Regions from separate parts of the Homo sapiens genome. Here regions 1, 2, 3, 4, 5 and 6 are each linked to region 7. The links are contacts of gene promoters, found by promoter capture Hi-C in blood cells and fetal thymus (Javierre and others, 2016). All regions are on one chromosome and are shown on one strand. Each heading gives the region's core, a stretch centred on a gene start or on the middle of the fragment in contact. The rest is flanking DNA. Distances are from core to core; before and after follow the strand shown. Region 1 has its middle 68 kb from the start of RRAGB. Region 2 has its middle 200 kb from the start of RRAGB. Region 3 overlaps RRAGB (Ras related GTP binding B). Region 4 has its middle 150 kb from the start of RRAGB. Region 5 has its middle 17 kb from the start of NBDY. Region 6 overlaps RRAGB (Ras related GTP binding B). Region 7 holds the start of KLF8 (KLF transcription factor 8).

Region 1 (2,849 bases), core at 168-2,667, 450 kb after region 7:
TCTAATGTCTGCCTTTCTTGTAAAACCACAGAAATTTCAATGGCAGAAATGTCAAAGTCCATGTCCTATCCAATCTATGTACTCCCAGTATCTGGCATGGCATGTAGAAGGTGTTGAATAAATGTTTGTGGGGTTTGCTCATTCATTAAACAAGTATTTACTGAGTCCTTTACTGTATGTCAGATTTTGTTCCAGATGCTGTGCATACAGTGGTGAACAAGGTCCCTGCCCTCATGTGGACCTACAATTCTAGTGAGAGCCAACAGAAAATTATCAAATAAATAAAATAATAATTTCAAGTAATGATAAGTTTTATAAAGAAATTAAAACAGGATACTATGTTAGAGCATAACAGGGGGTGAGATAGTAGTAGTTATGATGAGGTGTTCATGGAGAAGATATCTGATGTGGTAATGTGAACAGGGACTTGAATAATGAGAATGAACAAGTCATGGGAAGAACATTACAAGTAGGAACAGTTAGAACAAAGATCCTAAAGTAAGAATAAGCTTGATATGTTAAAATTAGCAAGGCCAGTTATGGAAGGAGCAGAATGAATTGAGAAGAAAATGGTAAGAGATGATGTTGAAGAAGTAGATAGAAGCCAGATCACATAAAATCTTTTTTTTTAAATTTTATAATTATTATACTTTAAGTTTTAGGGTACATGTGCACAATGTGCAGGTTAGTTACATATGTATACATGTGCCATGCTGGTGTGCTGCACCCATTAACTCGTCATTTAGCATTAGGTATATCTCCTAATGCTTCCCTCCCCCCTCCCCCCACCCCACAACAGTCCCCAGAGTGTGATGTTCCCCCTCCTGTGTCCATGTGTTCTCATTGTTCAATTCCCACCTATGAGTGAGAATATGCGGTGTTTGGTTTTTTGTTCTTGCTATAGTTTACTGAGAATGATGATTTCCAATTTCATCCATGTCCCTACAAAGGACATGAACTCATCATTTTTTATGGCTGCATAGTATTCCATGGTGTATATGTGCCACATTTTCTTAATCCAGTCTATCATTGTTGGACATTTGGGTTGGTTCCAAGTCTTTGCTATTGTGAATAGTGCCACAATCAACATACGTGTGCATGTGTCTTTATAGCAGCAAGATTTACAGTTCTTTGGGTATATACCCAGTAATGGGATGGCTGGGTCAAATGGTATTTCTAGTTCTAGATCCCTGAGGAATCGCCACATTGACTTCCACAAGGGTTGAACTAGTTTCCAGTCCCACCAACAGTGTAAAAGTGTTCCTATTTCTCCACATCCTCTCCAGCACCTGTTGTTTCCTGACTTTTTAATGATCGCCATTCTAACTGGTGTGAGATGCTATCTCATTGTGGTTTTGATTTGCATTTCTCTGATGGCCAGTGATGGTGAGCATTTTTTCATGTGTTTTTTGGCTGCATAAATGTCTTCTTTTGAGAAGTGTCTGTTTATATCCTTTGCCCACTTTTTGATGGGGTTTTTTTTTCTTGTAAATTTGTTTGAGTTCATTGTAGATTCTGGATATTAGCCCTTTGTCAGATGAGTAGGTTGTGAAAATTTTCTCCCATTTGTAGGTTGCCTGTTCACTCTGATGGTAGTTTCTTTTGCTGTGCAGAAACTCTTTAATTAGATCCCATTTGTCAATTATGGCTTTTGTTGCCATTGCTTTTGGTGTTTCAGACATGAAGTCCTTTCCCATGCCTATCTACAACTATCTGATCTTTGACAAACCTGAGAAAAACAAGCAATGGGGAAAGGATTCCCTATTTAATAAATGGTGCTGGGAAAACTGGCTAGCCATATGTAGAAAGCTGAAACTGGATCTCTTCCTTACACCTTATACAAAAATTAATTCAAGATGGATTAAAGACTTAAACGTTAGACCTAAAACCATAAAAACCCTAGAAGAAAACCTAGGCATTACCATTCAGGACACATAAGATCTTGTAGGCCATGGTCAGGAGACTGCTTGGTGTAAGGGAAAAACATCTGTGGATTTGAGAAGTAGTATCAAGACGTGGTTAAGTACACAGGCTCCAGTATAAATTTCTTAGATTCAAATTCCATCTCTGCCATTTTATTGGCTACCAAATAAAAGAGGCTTAGTCTCTGTGATGGTTAATATTAGGTGTCAACTTGATTGGATTGAGGGATGCCTAGATGGTTGGTAAGGCATTGTTTCTGGGTGTGTCTGTGAGGGTGTTGCCAGAGATCAACATTTAAGTCGTGGGACTGGGAGAGGAAGACCCTCAATGTAAGTGGGCACCACGCAATCAGCTGCCGGCATGGCTAGAACAAAGCAGGTGGAAGAAGGTGGGATAAGCTTGCTTGGTGCGTTTTCTGGCTTCCCGTGCTGGACGCTTGCTTCTGTTCCTCCTGCCTTTGGACATTAGACTCCAGGTTCTTCAGCCTTTGTACTGTGGGAATTGCACCAATGGCTTGCAGGTGTCTCTCAGACCTTCGGCTGCAGACTGAAGGCTACAATGTTGGCTTCCCTGGCTTTGAGGCTTTTTTACTCAGACTGAGCCACTACTGGCTTCTTTCTTCCCCCACTTGCAGGTGGCCTATTGTGGACTTTACCTTGTAATCATGTGAACCAATTCTCCCTAATAACCTCCCTTTCATATACATATACATCCTATTTGGCTCTGTCACTCTGGAACCCTGAATATAGCCTCTTCGTATCTCATATAGAAATAGAGGATAATAGTAGCATCAACAGCAAAGGTTTCCTGGGGCAGATTAGATGACACAGTCCAGATAAAGTGCTTAAGCAAATGCCTGGCAGAGTGAATGCTCAATAAGTATTAACTACTATTTTAAGCAGAGAAGTGAACGCAGCCACCAGACC
Region 2 (2,700 bases), core at 123-2,622, 310 kb after region 7:
AGGTGTTTTCATCATTCAGCTCCCACTTATAAGTGATAACATGTGGTATTTGATTTTCTTTTTCTGTGTTAACTCGCTGAGGATAATGGCTTCCAACTCCATCCATGTCCCTGCAAAGGACGTGATCTTATCTCTTTTTATAGCTGCATAGTATTCCATGGTGTATATGTACCACATTTTCTTTATCCAGTCTATCATTGATGGGCATTTGGGTTGATTCCATGTCTTTGCTATTGTGAATAGTGCTGCAATGAACATATGCATACATATATCTTTATAAAATAATGATTTCTATTTCTCTGGGTATATACTCAGTAATGGGATTGCTAAGTCAAATAGTATTTCTGCCTCTACATCTTTGAGGAATCGCCACACTGTCTTCCACAATGGTTGAACTAATTTCCACTCCCACCAACAGTGCAAAAGAGTTTCATTTTCTCTAAAATCTCACCAGCATCTGTTGTTTCTGGACTTTTTAATAATAGGCATCCTGACTGGTGTGAGATGGTATCTCACTGTGGTTTCGATTTCCATTTCTCTAATGATCAGAGTGATATTGAGCTTTTTTTCATATGTTTGTTGGCCACATGTATATCCTCTTTTGAGAAGTGTCTATTCATGGCCTTTGCCCATTTTTTAATGGGATTTTTTCTTTCTTTCGATTTTATTTTAAGTTCCAGGATATGTGTGCAGGACGTGCAGGTTTGTTACATAGGTAAAAGTGTTCCATAGTGGTTTGCTGCACCTATCAACCCATCACATAGGTATTAAGCCCCACATGCATTAGCTATTTATCTTGATGCTCTCCCTCCCCCTGCTGTCCCCCTGACAGGTCCCAGCGTGTGTTGTTCCCCTCCCTGTATCCATGCATTTTCATTGTTCACCTCCCATTATAAGTGAGAACACGCAGTGTTTGGTTTTCCGTTCCTGTGTTAGTTTGCTGAGGATAATGGCTTCCAGCTCCATCCATGTCCTACAAAGGACAAGATCTCATTCCTTTTTATGGCTGCATAGTATTCCATTGTGTAATGTAGCATATTTCTTTATCCAGTCTATCACTGATGGATATTTCGGTTGATTCCATGTCTTTGCTATTGTGAATAGTGCTGCAATGAACATACGTATGCATGTATTTTTACAATACAGTGATTTATATTTCTTTGGGTATATACCCAGTAATGGGATTGCTGAGTCAAATGGTATTTCTGCTGCTAGGTCTTTGAGGAATTGCCACACTGTCTTCCACAATGGTTGAACTAATTTACATTCCCACCAACAGTGTAAAAGCATTCCTATTTCTCCACAGCTTTGCCAGCATCTGTTGTTTCTTGACTTTTTAATAATCATCATTCTGACTGGCATGAGATGTTATCTCATTGTGATTTTGATTTGTATTTCTCCAATGATGAATGATGTTGAGTTTGTTTTTGATATGTATGTTGGCCACATAAATGTCTTCTTTTGAGAAGTGTCTATTCATGTCCTTTACCCACTTTATAATGGGGTTTTTTTATTCTTGTACATTTGTTTAAATTCCTTATAGATTCTGGATATTAGAACCTTGTCTGAAGGATAGATTGCAAAAATTTTCTCCTATTCTGTAGGTTGTCTCTTCACTCTGATGAGAGTTTCTTTTGCTGTACAGAAGCTCTTTAGTTTAATTAGATCCCATTTGTCAATTTTTGCTTTCGTAGCATTGCTTTTGATGTTTTTGTCATGAAATCTTTGCCCATGCCTATGCCCTGAATGGTATTGCCTAGATTTTCTTCTAGAGTTTTTATAATTTTGGGTTTTAGAACAAAGCTGGAGGCATCATGCTACCTGACTGCAAACAATACTACAGCCGATAGTAACCAAAACAGCATGGTACCCATACAAAAACAGATACATAGATCAATGGAACATAATAGAGATCTCAGAAATAAGGTCACACATCTACAACCATCTTATCTTCGACAAACCTGGCAAAAACAAGCAACTGGGAAAGGATTCCCTATTAAATTAATGATGCTGGGAAAACTGGCTAGCCACATGCAGAAAATTAAAACTGGACCCCTTCCTTACACCTGATACAAAAATTGACTCAAGATGAATTAATGGGATTTTTTCTTATAAATTTAAGTTCCTTGTATATGCTGAATATTAGACCTTTGTCAGATGCATAGTTTGAAAGTATTTTCTCCAGTTCTGTAGGTTGTCTGTTCATTCTGATTATAGTTACTTTTTCTGTGCAGAAGCTCTTTAATTAGATCCCATTTCTCAATTTTTGCTTTTGTTGCAATTGCTTTTGGCGGCTTCATCATGAAATGGTTGCCTGTGTCTATGTTCTGAACGGTATTGCCTTGATTCTCTTCTACTAGGAATTTTATAGTTTGGGGTTTTACTTTTAAGTTTAGATGTCTAGCATGGCCGAGTAAGTTTTCTTTGATTATTCCCTCAAATATGTTTTTCAAACTTTTATATTTCTCTTCATCATCAGGAACACCAATTATTCTTAGGTTTGGATATTTAACATAGTCCCAAACTTCTTGGAGGCTTTGTTCATTTTTTAAAATTCTTTTTTCTTTGTCTTTGATGGACTGGGTTAATTCAAAAGTCTTGTCTTCGAGCTCTGAAGTTCTTTCTGCTTGTTTGATTTTATTGCTGAGATTTTCCACTGCATTTTGCATTTCTCTAAGTGTGTCCTTGATTTCCAGAAGC
Region 3 (2,968 bases), core at 52-2,551, 500 kb after region 7:
AAATGATTCTGGCAACATGCAAAAACAGAGTTCTACAACACCCCCAAAAAGATCACACTAACTCTCCAGTGATGGATCCAAATCAAAATGAAATCTTTGAAATATCAGATAAAGAATTCAAAATGTTAATTATTAGGTTGCTAAATGATATCCAAGAGAAAGTTAGAAACCAACATAAAGAAATAACTGGACCAAGTAGAAGAAGAATTTCAGAGCTTGAAGACAAGGCTTTCAAATTAACACAATCAGATAAAAATTTTAAAAAAGGAATTAAAAGAAATGAACAAAGTCTCCAGTAAATATGGGTTTAGGTATAAAACATCCAAATCTAAGAATCACAGGTGTTCCTGAGGGAGAAGAAAAAGCAAAAAGCTTGGAAAACCCATTTGAGGAAATATTTGAGGAAAACTTTCCTGGTCTTGCTAGAAATTTAGACATCCAAATACAAGAAGCTCAAAGAACTCCTAGGAGATTCATTATAAAAAAAGACATTACCAAGTCATCAGGCTATCTAAAGTCAACATGAAGGAAAGAATTCTAAGAAGAGTGAGACAAAAGCATTGGATAACTTACAAAGGAAAACCTATCAGACTAATAGCAGACTTCTCAGCAGAAACCTTACAAGCCAAAAGGGATTGAGTCCTATCTTTAGTCTCCTCAAACGGAATAACTGTCAGCCAAGAATTCTGTATCTATCAAAACTAAATTGCATATGTGAAAGAGAAATGAAGTCTCTCCCAGACAAGCAAATGCTGATGGAATTTGTCTCCACCAGACCAGACCTATAAGAAATGCAAAAGGAGTTCTAAATATCTAAATGAAAGGTCATATGCACCAGTATAAAAACACTTGAAGGCAAAAAATTCACAGGACTTATAAAACTGTAACACATTGAAGAAAACCAAGCAACTAGGTAGCAGCATGATGACTGCAACAGTACATCACATGTCAATATTAACATTGAATGTAAATGGTCTAAATGTGCCACTTAAAAGATAATAGATGGACAGAATGGAAAAAAACACAAACCAAATATCTGCTGTCTTCAAGAGACCCAGTTAACTTGTAAAGATTCTTATAGACTTAAGGCAGATGGGTAGGAAGAATATTCCATGTTAATGGAAACCAAAAGTGAGTGGGAATAACTATTCTTAGATAAAACAGACTTTAAATCAACAACAGTAAAAAAGACAAAAAATGTCATTATATAATGATAAAGAAATCAATTCAACAAGAAGATATAACAACCCAAAATTTATGCACACCTAACTCCAGAGCTCCCAGATTCATAAAAACAGAAACTACTAGACCTAAGAAAAAGAGATAGAAAGCAATACAATTATAGTGGAGGACTACAACACGCCATGGACAGCACTGGATAGATCATTGTGGCGGAAAGTCAACAAACACTGGACTTAAACTGGACTCTAGAAAAAGTGGATTTAACAGACATTTACAGAACATTCTACCCAAAAACTGCAGAATATACATTCTTGTTGTCAGCACGTGGAACTTTTTCAAGATAGACTATATATCAGGCCACAAAAGAAGTCTTAATAAATTTTAAAAAATCAAAATCATATCAAGTATCAAATCAGCCCAAAGCAGAATAAAACCAGAAATCAATTCCAAGAGGAATTCTCAAAACCATACAAATATATGGAAATTAAATAGTCTATTCTTCAATGATCTTTGGGTCAAAAATAAAATCAAGATGGAAAAATTTTTTGAAATGAATTAAAATACTGACACAAGTTATCAAAATCTCTGGGATATAGCAAAAGCAGTGCTAAGATCAAAGTTTATTGCACTAAATGCCTACATCAAAAGGACAAAAAGATCACAAATTTACAACCTAACATCACACCTCAAGGAACTGGAGAAACAAGAACAAGCCAAACCCAAAGCTAGCAGAAGAAAAGAAATAAGAAATAACAAAGATTAGAGTAGAACTCAAGAAAATTGAAAATAAATTAAAAAAATACAATGGTCAATGAAACAAAAAGTTGGTTCTTTGAAAAGATAAACTAAATTAATAAACCACTAGCTAGATAAAGCAAGAAAAGAAGATTCCAATAAGCTCTATCAGAAATGAAAATGGAAACATCATACTGATAAACACAGAAATACAAAGGATGACTGAGACTACTATGAACACTTCTATGCACTCAAAGTACAAAATCTAAAGGAAATGGATAAATTCTTGGAAATATACAACCACACAAGCTTCAATCAGGAAAAGAAATAGAAATCCTGAACAGAGCACTAACAATTAGTGAGACGTAATCAGTAATAAAAAAAAAAAAAAACCCAGCCGGGCACGGTGGCTCAAGCCTGTAATCCCAGCACTTTGGGAGGCCGAGGCAGGCGGATCATGAGGTCAGGAGATTGAGACCATCCTGGCTAACATGGTGAAACCCCGTCTCTACTAAAAATACAAAAAATTAGCTGGGTGTGGTGGCGGGCACCTGTGGTCCCAGCTACTCGGGAGGCTGAGGCAGGAGAATGGCGTGAACCTGGGAGGCAGAGCTTGCAGTGAGACGAGACCACGCCACTGCACTCCAGCCTGGGTGAAAGAGCGAGACTCCGTCTCAAAAAAAAAAAAGAAACAAAAACTCAAAATTTCCCAACCAAAAAAAAAAACCCCAGGACCAGATAGATTCATAGCCAAGTTCTATGAGACAGTCAAAGAACTGATGCCAATCCAACTGAAACTGTCCCAAAAGATTGAGAATGAGGGAATCCTCCTTAACTCATTCTACAAAGCCAGTGTCATCCTAATACCAAAGCCACGAAAGGACATAAAAAAAGAAAGCTACAAATCAATATACTCAATGAACATAAATGCAAAAATCTTCAACTAAATATTAGCAAACCTAATCTACCAGCACATCAAAGAGATCATTCACCAAGATCAAGTGGGCTTCATCCCAGGGATGCAAGTATGGTTCAATATACACAAGTCAAT
Region 4 (3,025 bases), core at 205-2,704, 360 kb after region 7:
TCAGGTAAGTTTCTTCTATACCTACTTTGTTTACAGTTTTCTATTATAAATAGATGTTGAACCCAGTCAAATGCTTTTTCTGTGTCTATTGAGATTATTACATGGCTTTTGGTTTATATTATGTTACATTACATTGATTGATTTGCATATACTGAACTCGCCTTGCTTCTCTGGGAAAACTTTACTTATTTATGTTGTATAATCTTTTTCATGTACTTTTGAATTAAGTTAGCTAGTCTTTTATTGAGAACTGTTCTATCTATATTCATCACAGATATTGGCTTCTAGATTTGTTTTCTGTGGTGTCTTTGTCTGGCTTTCACATGAAAGTGATGCTAGCCTTATAAAATTAGTTTTGAAGCGTTTCCTCTTCTTTTTTTTTTAAGGCTTTAAGTAGCTTTGGTATTAATTATTTTTTTGAGTATTTGGTAGAATTTACCCATGAAACCATCTGGTCCTGTGCTTTTTTTGGTTAGGCAGTATTTTATTAACATTTCAATCTCTTTACTTGTTATTTGTCTGCTTAGGCTTTATATCTATTCATTATTTCAGTCTTGGTGGGTTTCCTGTTTCTAGGAATGTATCCACTTATTTTATCAAATTTGTTGGCATATAATTGTACATAATACATTCTTATGATCCTTGTTATTTCTAAGGCCTCTGTTTTAATGCCTTCTCTTTACCATCGATTTTATTTATCTGAGACTTCTCTTTTTTCTTAAACTAGCTGAGGGATTGTTAATTTTATCTTTTCAGAAAACTACATCTTGGCCACGCCTATAATCCCAACATTTTGGGAGGCTGAGGCGGGCAGATCATGAGGTCAGGAATTCGAGACCAGCCTGGCCAACATGGTAAAACCCTGTCTCTACTAAAAATACAAAAATTAGCTGGGCGTGGTGGCAGGCCCCTGTAATCTCAGCTACTTGGGAGGCTGAGGCAGAAGAATTGCTTGAACCTGGGAGGCAGAGGCTACAGTGAGCCGAGATCTCACCACTGCCCTCCAGACTGGGTGACAGAGCAAGACTCAGTCTCGGGGGAAAAAACTAGACCTTGATTTTGTTGATTTTTTTCAATTTGTTTTATTTCTGCTCTGATTTTTATTATTCATTTCCTTTCTGCTAAGTTTGGGGCTTAGTCTTCATTTCTTTTTCTAGTTTCTTGATGTGTAACATTAGATTGTTTATTTGAGATCTCTCTTGCCTTTTAATGTAGGCATTTATTGCTACAAATTTTCCTCTTAATACTGCTTTTGCTACATTCCACATGGTTTTGGTATGTAGTAATTTTGTTTTCATTTGTCTTGAGACACTCTTTTAATTTCCTTTTGATTTCCTCTTTGACTGAATGGTTTTTCAAATCTTGTTAATTTTTACGTATTTATGAATTTTCTCATTTTCTTACTGTTCCTGATTTTGAATTTGATTCCACTGTGGTCAGAAAAGTTACTTGGTATAATTTCAAACTTACCCATTTTGTTAAGACTTGTTTCATTGCCCAATGTGTTATCTATCCTGAAGAATGTTTTATGTGTGCTGAGAACAATGTATATTCTTCTGCTGTTGGGTGGAGAGTTTTGTCTGATAGGTCCATTTGGTCTGTAGTGTTATTCAAGTCTACAGTTTCTTAATTTATTTTCTGTTTGGATGCTTTATGCATTATTGAAAACGGAGTTTTGAAGTTTTCTACTAGTATTGTCTTGCAGTCAGTTTCTTCTTTCATATATGTCAATATTTGCTTCAAATATTTAATTGCTATAATGGTGGGTGCATATGTATTTAAAATTATGTCTTCTTATTGAATTGACTCTTATGTCATTATACAATTACTGTCTTTGTTTCTAAAAAGTTTTTAAAGTCTATTTTGTTTGATATATGTATAGCCTCTCTTGCTTTCCTTTGCATAGAATATCTTTTTCCAACTCTTTACTTTTAATTCATTCAGCCATTGTATATCTTTTGATTAGAGAGTGTAATCCATTTACATTTACATTGATTAGAAAAGACTTATTGTTGCTATTTGTTCATTGTTTTCTGTTTGTCTTATAGTTCATGTGTCTCTTTTCTTCTCTTTTGCTGTCTTTATTATTATTATTATTATTGTGTCGATAGGTTTTGTTTTTTATTTTTGCATATGTAACTTCTGTAAGTATTTTCTTTATGATCAACATGGAGCTTACATAAAATATCTTGTAGTTTTACAATGGTCTATTTCACACTGATAACAACTTAGCTTCACTTGTGTAGAGGAACTCTACATGTTTACCTCTCTTTACCCCACATTATTACGTGTCAAGAATGTCACAATTTAGATTCATTTATATTGTGTAACCATTAACATAATTTACTTATAACTATTTTTAATAGTTTTGTCTTTTGACTTTTATAATTGAATTAAGCGTGATTTACCCACTACTTTTATAGTAATACAGTATTCCCTCTATTTGTCTATGTATTTACCTTTACCAGCAAGTTTTATACTTTCTTATGCTCTCACATTTCTGTTTAGTATCTTTTTGTTTTAACTTGAAGAATTCACTTTAGCATTTCTTGCAAGGCAGGTCTAGTGGTACTAAACTCCTTCAACTTTTGTTTGAGAAAGTCTTTGTCTCTCTTTCCTTTGTGAAAGACATATTTGCCAATTGTAGTATTATTGCCTGGCAGGTTTTTTTTTTCTTTTTTTCCTTTTAGCACTTTGAATCTATCAACCCACCTACTCCTTCTGGCCTGCAAGGTTCTACTGATAAAAACACTGATTGTTTTATGAGGGTTTTCTTGTAGGTAACAAGTTACTTTTCTCCTGCTGCTTTCAGAATTCTCTCTTTAAGTTTTAAGAATTTGATTATAATGTGTCTCACTGTGGATCTCTTTGTATTCCTCTAGTTTGGTGTGCTTTGGGCTTTTTTGGATCTGGATGTCTTTTTTCTTTCCCAGGTTTGGGAAGTTTTCAGCCATTATTTGTTTGAATAAGCTTTCTGCCCTTTACTCTTTTTCTTCTTCTACTGAGACTTCTATATGTCCTATAA
Region 5 (3,021 bases), core at 326-2,825, 480 kb before region 7:
GAGAAATACATTTGCTGAACAGATTTCCAATATCTGAATAGTGCATTCATTCATTTATAATCAGTAGGACATCAGTATGTGTGGACTAACAGCAAGGGAATTAGTTGATTGTATTAATGGATGGTGTGATTAGGCAAAAATAAGAGGAAGATGCAAATAAACCAGGTTTTGCAGCTTAAAGAAACCAACATTATTATCTCATAGTTTCTGTGGCTTAGAAATTCAGGTGCAGCTCAGCTGGGTTTCTTTGTCTCTAGGTTTCTTATGAGGTAGCAGTCAAACTGTCAGCTATGGCTGCTGTCATATCTGAAGGCTAGATTGGTGGCAGATCCTCCTCCAAGCTCACTCATATGATTATTTCAAGGCTTGATCTCTTGCCACTTGGACCCTTCTACAAGGTTGCTGGAAGCTCTAGCTTTTCCCAAGGTTGGTGATTAGAGAGAGAATGTCAGAGTTCTAATGATTAAAGCTACAGTCTTTTTACAACTTAATTTTTAGAAGTGATATCCCATTACTTACAGCATATTCTATTAATCAGAAGTTAATCACTAGGTCAAACCTACACCCAGAGAGAGGAGTTTGCACATGGTCATGAATAGCTGAAAGTGGAGTTCATTGAAGGCCAGATCACAAACATCTGTTTGTGTCTACCACAAACAGAAACACACATTTTTTGAAAAGGAAAAAACAACAGACTGTCCAATACTGGAAAGTATGCAACCAATAAGTTGTCAAATAAATGCAAAATTTTTAATTTGCAAATCATAATTGTATATATTTATGGAATACCTGTGATGTTTTGATACATGTGTACAATGTGGAATGATTAAATGAAGCTAATTAACATATTAGTCATTTTATTTACCTATCATTTTTATGGGGAGACATTTAAAATGTACTCTTTTAGTTATTTTAAAATGTATTTATTATCATTGACTATAGTCACCCAACTGTGCAATTGATCTAAAAACTTATTCCTCTCTTCTATCTGAAACTTTTTACCCTTTGACCAACAACTCCCCAATTCTTTTCTCCACCCCACCCACCGTCATTCTACTCTCTACTTTTATGAGTTCAATGAACATTTCTTACAATTAAAAATTAAAAATAAATGTGAATTTAAAAAATGTAGACACTATTTTCACCAACTAATTTAGGAAAAAGACACACAATGCTACTGACAATGCAGAAAAGTGGTACTATAATATATTGTAATTTTTAGTTTATATATGTACAACACTTTTAGAAAGCATATTAAAAGTAGGTGTAAAGTATTTATTTCTTTACCAAGTAATTCCAAATTTCAGAATCTGTCTTTAGGAAAGAAATTTAAGATTTCCAAAAATTTTAACACAAAAATATTTACCACAGTATTACTTTTAATGGTAAAAAATTGGAAAAAAATGTTAAATAAGGGAGGGGCCAAGATGGCTACTTAGAAGCAGCTGCAGTTCATGGCACTTACAGAAAGGAAAAAAAAGGGGCAAGTGAATTCAGCACCTTCAACTGAAATATCCAGGCTCTCACATTGGGACTGACAAGGCAAACAACTCTACCCACGGAGAAGAAAAGCAGGGTGGGGTGATGGCCCACCCAGAAGTGGCACAAAGCCAAAGCAATCCCCACCCCCAGCCAAAAGATGCAGTAAGTAATTGTGCGACTCAACCTGGGAAACCACACTTCTCCCACAAATCTTTGCACCCCACAGATAAGGTGATACACTTATAAGCCCATGCCACCAGGGCCTTGGGGTGCAATAAGTGTGTGTGTAGTCTCAGCAGAGCTGCGTTGAGTCTCAGCAGAGCAGTCACTCAGGCACACACAGAAACCCAGTTATTTTACTTACTCTGGCCCCAGAATCCCTGGCAAGGTGGGAAATCTGTTTGTACATATTCCTAGGAAGGGGGCCAAATCCAGGGAGCCAAATGACATTATTCTGTTGACCCCACTTCCATGGCACCTCACAACTTAAGATCCACTGGCTTGGAATTCCAGCCAGCCAATAGCAACAGACAGGACTCTGCTTGAGATGGGTCCAAGTTCCCAGGGGGAGAGGTGGCTGCCATTTCTGTGGTTTGGTAGACTCAGACATTACAACCTGATGGCTTTGGAGAATACAGATGGTCTAGAAAAGGAAGGTTCCCCCACAATCCAGCAAAGCTGTCTTGCCAGATCATGGCCAGACTGCTTCTTTAAGTGAGACCCCAATTCATTATTTCTTTCTGGGCAGGACTTCCCTGCAGAGGCTTCAGCTACTCCAGCCAGGGTTCTATAGATAGAGCTCTGATCTCTCCCTGAAATGGAGCTCCCAGGAAGAGGGTCAGCCACCATCTCTGCAGTTCAGTCAACACAGCCATTCCAGTTTGCTAGTTTTGGAGAATCCAAACAGTCAGGACAAGGAAGAATTCCCCCTAATGAAGCACACTTGCTCTACCAAAAAGCAGCCCAATTGCTTATTTATTTTTTTACTTATTTTTATTTCCATAGGTTTTGGGAGAACAGGTGGTATTCGGTTACATGGGTGAGTTCTTTAGTGGTAATTTCTGAGATTTTGTGTACCCATCACCTGAGAAGTATACACTGAACTCAATTTGTAGTCTTTTATCTCTCACCCTGCTCCCACTCTTTCACCTGAGTCCCCAAAGTCCATTGTATAGTTCTTATGACTTTGTGTCCTCATAGCTTAGCTCCCACTTATGAGTGAGAACATATAATGTTTGTTTTTTTATTTCTGAGTTACTTCACTTAGAATAATAGCCTCCAGTTCCATCCAGGTTGCTGTGAATGCCATGCATGTTTATGGTTGAGTAGTATTTCATCATATGTATAAATATACCACAATTTTGTTATGCACTCATTGATTGATGGGCATTTGGACTGGTTCCACATTTTTGCAATTGCAAATTGTGCTGCCATAAATATGCATGTGCAAGTATCTTTCTCATATAATGACTTCTTTTCCTCTGGGTAGATACATAGTAGTGGGATTGCTGGATCAAATGGGAGTTTTATTATTAGTTC
Region 6 (2,879 bases), core at 34-2,533, 480 kb after region 7:
CTATTTTTAAAATGTATTTACAAATACAATACTGGTTTTTGCATCCCCCTTTCAGGGTTATACAAACAATAGGCTCTAATATAGTTGCTAAGTTCAATTTACAAGAAAAATAAAAATACCAACATGCCTCTTTCCCTCTCCACTTCTTCATGTGAACTCCTATGTCACTGAGATGACCATAACATCTCTTCTACATTAAAAGTTTTCAATGAGTCTTTTAGAGAAAAGGATAGGATGTGAGTTTTCTCAAAAGGAAAATATCCCACATTTCATAATAAAAGTCCACAGGAAATAGGAATCCTTTAACATAAATGAACAGTTACTAGCATAAATAATCTGAACTCTCTTTTTTTTTGAGATGGAGTTTCGCTCTTGTTGCCCAGGCTGGAGTGCAATGGCATGATCTCAGCTCACCCCAACCTCCGCCTCCCGAGTTCAAGCGATTCTCCTGCCTCAGCCTCCCAAGTAGCTGGGATTATAGGCATGCGTCACCACACCTGGCTAATTTTGTATTTTTTGGTAGAGACGGGGTTTCTCCATGTTGGTCAGGCTGGTCTCTAACTCCCGACCTCAGGTGATCCACCCGCCTCGGCCTCCCAAAGTGCTGGGATTACAGGCGTGAGCCCCCATGCCCAGCCAACAATCTGAACTCTCTAATAATACATACCTGGAAAAATCTAAGTTTCACTAACTTCCAAAGAGCTACACACCAAAGGGCTTCTTTCAGGTCACTTGCTGACAATACTATTTTATAAATAAGTCTGTACATGCTAAAGTTGACAAGAGGGAAAAAGGTTCTTCCTGAAAGTAGTGACATGCTGTTCTCTGTTGCTGAAAACAAAGAACGTACAGTGTGAAGTACATCTGCAAAGCAGAAAGTTCTTACCAGAAAAGTAGCTCTCTCAAAAAGAAGTACTTCATCAGCTTCGATAATTTCAGCAAAATTCCTTAGGTTCATTTCCAGCTGCTGAACATTGGGAATCAGCTGATAAACTATGCTGGACCAAGCCTAACAGAACAGAAACACAGTGTACTATTATTAACAGCTAGTCAGTCCCAGACCTTTGAAATTAGTAAGTACACTATAATATGTGGACAGCAAAATATGATGATAATCCAGTCCCAAACAAATACTGACATTAAATATGATATAACACAAATGAAATGAGAAAATGAAGCTAGCATCTGATTTTTACCCTTGAGTTGAATTTTTTTTAAGTTCAAACACTTTTGTAAAATGCTGGAGAAACTTCTTTCCATTGATAATTGAAAGCAAACAAATATTTAATGCCATCATGTTGCCTTAGGAAAAAAGTTGAAAAATATGATCTACTTTGTTAAAAAGCTCCTAATCTAGTCACAAATATTTAAGTCCAACAGTGTAGATTTCTCTAAAGATCAGAACCTAATTATGCTATATTTAACATATACCTAAGAATCAATTTTATGAAAGTAGCAGAGCCACATAGACAAATGGCCCCTCCCCTCAATAGAATAATATACCATTAAAAGAGAAACTAGTGGCATTATCATTCCCAAAGGTTTGTTGTTATCCATATAAATTATTGATCCAATTGAATTCAAAATGGTCTACTGTGTTTTTGCCTAAAACTGACTTCATCCAGGAGTATGACTAATGTAAGCAGTTGAAATTAACCACACTCTCCCTCTATTCTTGTAGGCTCTTTTATTTGTATTTTCATTATAATACTTCCTTCACTCTCACTCCAATTTGTCTGGTAAGGTGTACTTTGTTCTTCTCTCCCCTACAAGAGGGCAGGAACCTGGTCTTAGTCATTTGTGTATCCAACAGCATCAAGCAGGTATGTAAAGAGTGCTTGTTGAATAAAACTTAATATAAAAATTTAAGTTAGCTCTATGCAACATTGATGTAAGAGACAGAAGTGCCATGTCTCTGTTCCAATTAGTTTTATTACTTAGGCATGAGGGTTCAGGTTCCAAGTTCCCAGGTCGGTGTTAATGTCACTGCTGAATTTACCTTGGAGAAGGCACCAAAGCTAACCACAGCAGAGACATTGTCACTCACAGCAGTGTTGTGATTAGCCAATTGTCTTTGGTCGTGTTATGTATTGCCATCCTTCACACCGCAGTTGGTTCTTATCAGTGCGTCATGTCCATCCTTATTCACGGTTACCTGTTCTATGGGAATAAGGCTTTGAGAGAAATTCGGCCCATATTAATCTAGAACAGTATTTCCTAGACAGGTATCTCAAAATGATCTGTTATTAGAGTGAGGCTGGGTCAACATAATATTGGGGAAAATGAATTAGTTAAAAAAAAAAAAAGCAATGGCTATTTAAAAGTCCAATGGTTTTTCTCCTTGCCACATCAGGTTTCTGTGCTTCTGGTTGTAGATACTTGTCAGATGCTGTTGATACTGAGGCTGTAGCTACCAGTGACAGAGAAGGGTGCTTTCCTACCCAGAGTCAGACTTGTCAATGGATACCAGAAGCAGTCTGAAGGGAAGGGCTAACTACAGAAGGATCCAAAAGGACCTAGTCCTTCAAATAACTAGATCAGTAGGAGAAAGGGAGGAATCAGAATAAGGAGCCTATGTGCCAATAAGGTAATTTCAGCTTCATCCATAACAAAGCTATTGTTGTAACCTCCATAATTAGTGTAAGCAGTGTGGTATCCATTCCAGCAATGGGAACAGTACTTCTGGTTGAAAGAATGCTTGTCTCCAATTTGGCATGAAAGTTGAAGCTATTATACCATATGCTAGGCATAACATGTCTGATTCTAAGACTCCTTCTCCAATCTCTTCCCTAAATATTTTCATTTTATTGCCATCCAAACTTAGGCAGACTAGCTTATATCATGTAGAAGTACCTGAATACTAGATACAACTCCAATCA
Region 7 (2,700 bases), core at 84-2,583:
TTTGGCTGTGTGGGGTTAAGTCAAAGACAATCCTTACCGCTTAAGGAGTATTGGGAGTGCCGAGCCAGGGGAGACTAGACTAGACAAATCCATCCATTCTTGCCCCCTTTCACTTCTTCCACCAAGCTCTCTCCTCTCCTTCTTGGCCTTTCTTTGCCCAGCCCTTTAGCAAAGTCATTTTCCCTTGAGTTTCATTTGATTCCACATAGTGTTCTTAACCTTCCGCTCCCGCCCCCACTGCTGAAACCCCAAGTGGGGTGTGTGGGGGGAGCAGGGGGACTGGGAGGGGGATAGAATCTAGACGAAAGAGGTGGGAGTGGGTGGGTATTAGTCCCAGAGTCACTTACCGACCATGTCACTAGCTGAGGACTCCTGAAGTGTCCAGAACTCATGCCGTCCTCCGGGAGGCTCATACTCCTGAGCTGATCGCAAGAGAGCTGTTCCCCTCACACCCGCCCCATTCTGACATAGCGCAGGGCGACGCGTTCTCGTCTTCTCGTTCTTGGGCCCCCACTCCCCTATTTCTCCGGGCTGGAAAATGAGGAGGGGGTCGAAAGGGGAGGGAGTCGATTCAGACCCAGCTGGGCCACTCTCGGAACAAGGGAAACAAAGCTCTCAAGCATCCAACCCAAAAATCAGGGGCCGGCAGAGTAGACTTCCTAAAAAGAATCCTCCCCCCTGCAGCTTTTCCTTGGACAAAAATAAAGTGGGTTCGCTGGGCCGAAGTGGCCAGAGCTTAAGGTCCTCCGTTCCCCTTTTACCTCTACCAATTCAGTTCCGGCCAAGCCCGCTCTCCACCCATCCTCTGAACTCCACACACCCTTTAAAAGGAGAGGGCCGGGGGTGGGGGCTATGAAAACCAACCCAACCCCCAAAGCGCTACTTGAACATAAAGTTGAGGCGGAGAAGAAATCCTTCAAGACAGGAACCCACGAGGAGATACCACAAGAGGATCCCTTCACCGCCGCCGTTGCCGCCGCACACCCCAGCGCCTTCCTAAAAAGAAAGAAGGGAGGAAAAAAATGCCGACGATTGGTAGAATCATAGAGAAGAACACCAGCCCCAGGGCAGGGGCTTCAGCGAAAAATGGCAGCAACTCGTGCGGGTCCTCTGGGGCGGGGTTTCTTGGAGGCACCTAGCTGCCCCACGGGGTACCTCGCGCCCCACGCGAGTCAGAACCTAAAGTGCTCTCTGGGCAACCTGAGTGGGTAGAGTGATTCCGTCTTTCTCTGGCCCTGCTAGGCCCAAAGGAGAGGTGTGACTATCGTGAGGACTCCACCTAGGGTGGAGTTCCTTAAAAAGGACAGGCGGCCGCTAGAGGAGAGTGCAAAGTGGGAGGAGGTGGAGAAGGGTGGGGCTGAGAAGGAGGAGGGAGGAAGGAGGGGGTGGGGCGGGGCCCTGGGCCGACAGAGCTGGCCTCGCCTCCGGCGGCCGCCTCCCTCAGCCTCCAGCAGCGGCAGGTATAATTCCAATCAATTTCACTTCCTTATCTGTCCCAAAATTAAGGCTTGCAAGCACACTGCTTGATTACCTATTTACTCCGGTTATGCTAATTCTCCAGGGGAGGGTGGTGAAACGGGTACTGGGATTGGGGCTGGGGGCTGTCTAAGAGGGAAAGGAGAAAACAAAAAAGCTGACAACTGGAAGCGATATTTATCCTCCTACCTCTCCATGGTAACACGAACAAGGACAGCGAGGTCACAGTGTCTTCTCAGGGAGGAAGCTAAAAGGAACGGAGATTGGAGCTTGGTGCATTTTCTAGCAAGAGATAAGCCAAGGAGGTGAGGGCGAAGGAGTAGGTGGGGAAGAAGAAGGAGTTGAAGATGATCTGTGAATACAGCGTGGCCCAGCAGGGAGACTTAAGAAAGGCTTTCTCAGTCTCCCAGATACCAGACCTCTAAGAATAGAGTTCTCAACCCCCTGAGACCGCCTCTCAGCCAGGCATTGGCGAAGATCCCCGTAAAGCTGAATCCACAGGATAGGAGCCATGTTTCCAGGATTTCTTTACGCTTGCCTGAAAGTCTCTCTCTAGCTCATTTTAATGGGAGGCCAGGAAGTCACAAGCAACCACAGCCCATTTTCAGTGCCTCTTCCCTACCACAATTCTTTTAAAGAGGAGGAAAAAGAAGAGAGACAAGAAACAAAGCAGAGGGAGGAAGAGCAAAGAGACAGGAGAAATAATAATATCTGCCATGTATTCAGCACCTAATATGGGCAAGTCCCTGAGCCAGGTGCTTTTACATTCAACATTTCCCCATTTAGTCCCAATAACAACCCTGGGAACTAGGTACTGTTATATTCTCTGTGCCCTTTATTTAAAAAAATAAGGAAACGGAAGGCCTCAGCCCAGTACTTTCGAACACATAGGTCTACTTACTTAGTTGATATTTCTGCCTGAATGTCTTCTGTGCATCTCATCTACCTTCCTTTCCCCAAAACACTCTGTTCTTCCTCCTGTAGTTCACCAACTACCTGAATGGCACCACCATACATCCAAGGCAGCACCCTGGAACTCATCCTTTAACCTGCTGTGATCTGGCCTTTGTCTGCCTCTCAAGCAGCAGAGATTTTGCTGTTCTCCTGGGCTTTACCTGGATTACAAATCCCTGGGAATTCCAAGCTGTTTCCAATCTCTATGCCTTGGGTTGCTTTACTTTCTCTGACTGAAATAGACTAAGCTCTCTGTCCACCTTTTTTTTT

The links. The method cuts DNA at HindIII sites, captures the fragments that hold promoters and counts their contacts. A CHiCAGO score of 5 or more calls a contact.
Region 1: a fragment that was not itself captured here is called in contact with the fragment with the promoter of KLF8 in region 7 in 1 of 17 cell types (naive B cells); the score reaches 6.3 in naive B cells.
Region 2: a fragment that was not itself captured here is called in contact with the fragment with the promoter of KLF8 in region 7 in 2 of 17 cell types (total B cells and naive B cells); the score reaches 11.0 in total B cells.
Region 3: a fragment that was not itself captured here is called in contact with the fragment with the promoter of KLF8 in region 7 in 2 of 17 cell types (naive B cells and total B cells); the score reaches 6.9 in naive B cells.
Region 4: a contact is called between a fragment that was not itself captured here and the fragment with the promoter of KLF8 in region 7, in 1 of 17 cell types (total B cells). The highest score is 6.6, in total B cells.
Region 5: a fragment that was not itself captured here is called in contact with the fragment with the promoter of KLF8 in region 7 in 1 of 17 cell types (naive CD8 T cells); the score reaches 5.1 in naive CD8 T cells.
Region 6: a contact is called between a fragment that was not itself captured here and the fragment with the promoter of KLF8 in region 7, in 6 of 17 cell types (total B cells, naive B cells, M2 macrophages and 3 more). The highest score is 12.3, in total B cells.

What each region holds. Positions count from the first base shown.
Region 1 is chrX:55,784,013-55,786,861 of GRCh38, reverse strand. No RefSeq gene overlaps it. Among named protein-coding and RNA genes, the nearest start is that of RRAGB, 68 kb to the right of the region's middle. The HindIII fragment of the contact is 1,812 bases long and covers 512-2,323 here.
Region 2 is chrX:55,920,587-55,923,286 of GRCh38, reverse strand. It overlaps a transcript of KLF8 not described here. Among named protein-coding and RNA genes, the nearest start is that of RRAGB, 200 kb to the right of the region's middle. The HindIII fragment of the contact is 9,872 bases long and covers 1-2,700 here.
Region 3 is chrX:55,733,607-55,736,574 of GRCh38, reverse strand. The region is part of intron 5 of RRAGB (Ras related GTP binding B); the gene reads right to left. Among named protein-coding and RNA genes, the nearest start is that of RRAGB, 17 kb to the right of the region's middle. The HindIII fragment of the contact is 1,854 bases long and covers 375-2,228 here.
Region 4 is chrX:55,869,730-55,872,754 of GRCh38, reverse strand. No RefSeq gene overlaps it. Among named protein-coding and RNA genes, the nearest start is that of RRAGB, 150 kb to the right of the region's middle. The HindIII fragment of the contact is 3,036 bases long and covers 1-2,972 here.
Region 5 is chrX:56,711,074-56,714,094 of GRCh38, reverse strand. No RefSeq gene overlaps it. Among named protein-coding and RNA genes, the nearest start is that of NBDY, 17 kb to the left of the region's middle. The HindIII fragment of the contact is 5,674 bases long and covers 1-3,021 here.
Region 6 is chrX:55,751,522-55,754,400 of GRCh38, reverse strand. It overlaps RRAGB (Ras related GTP binding B), which reads right to left. Exons shown (of 10, transcript NM_006064.5): 7 at 887-1,009. Among named protein-coding and RNA genes, the nearest start is that of RRAGB, 35 kb to the right of the region's middle. The HindIII fragment of the contact is 4,544 bases long and covers 1-2,879 here.
Region 7 is chrX:56,230,989-56,233,688 of GRCh38, reverse strand. It overlaps KLF8 (KLF transcription factor 8), which reads right to left and starts at 1,333. Exons shown (of 6, transcript NM_007250.5): 1 at 348-1,333. The coding sequence starts at 354. The HindIII fragment of the contact is 3,283 bases long and covers 1-2,700 here.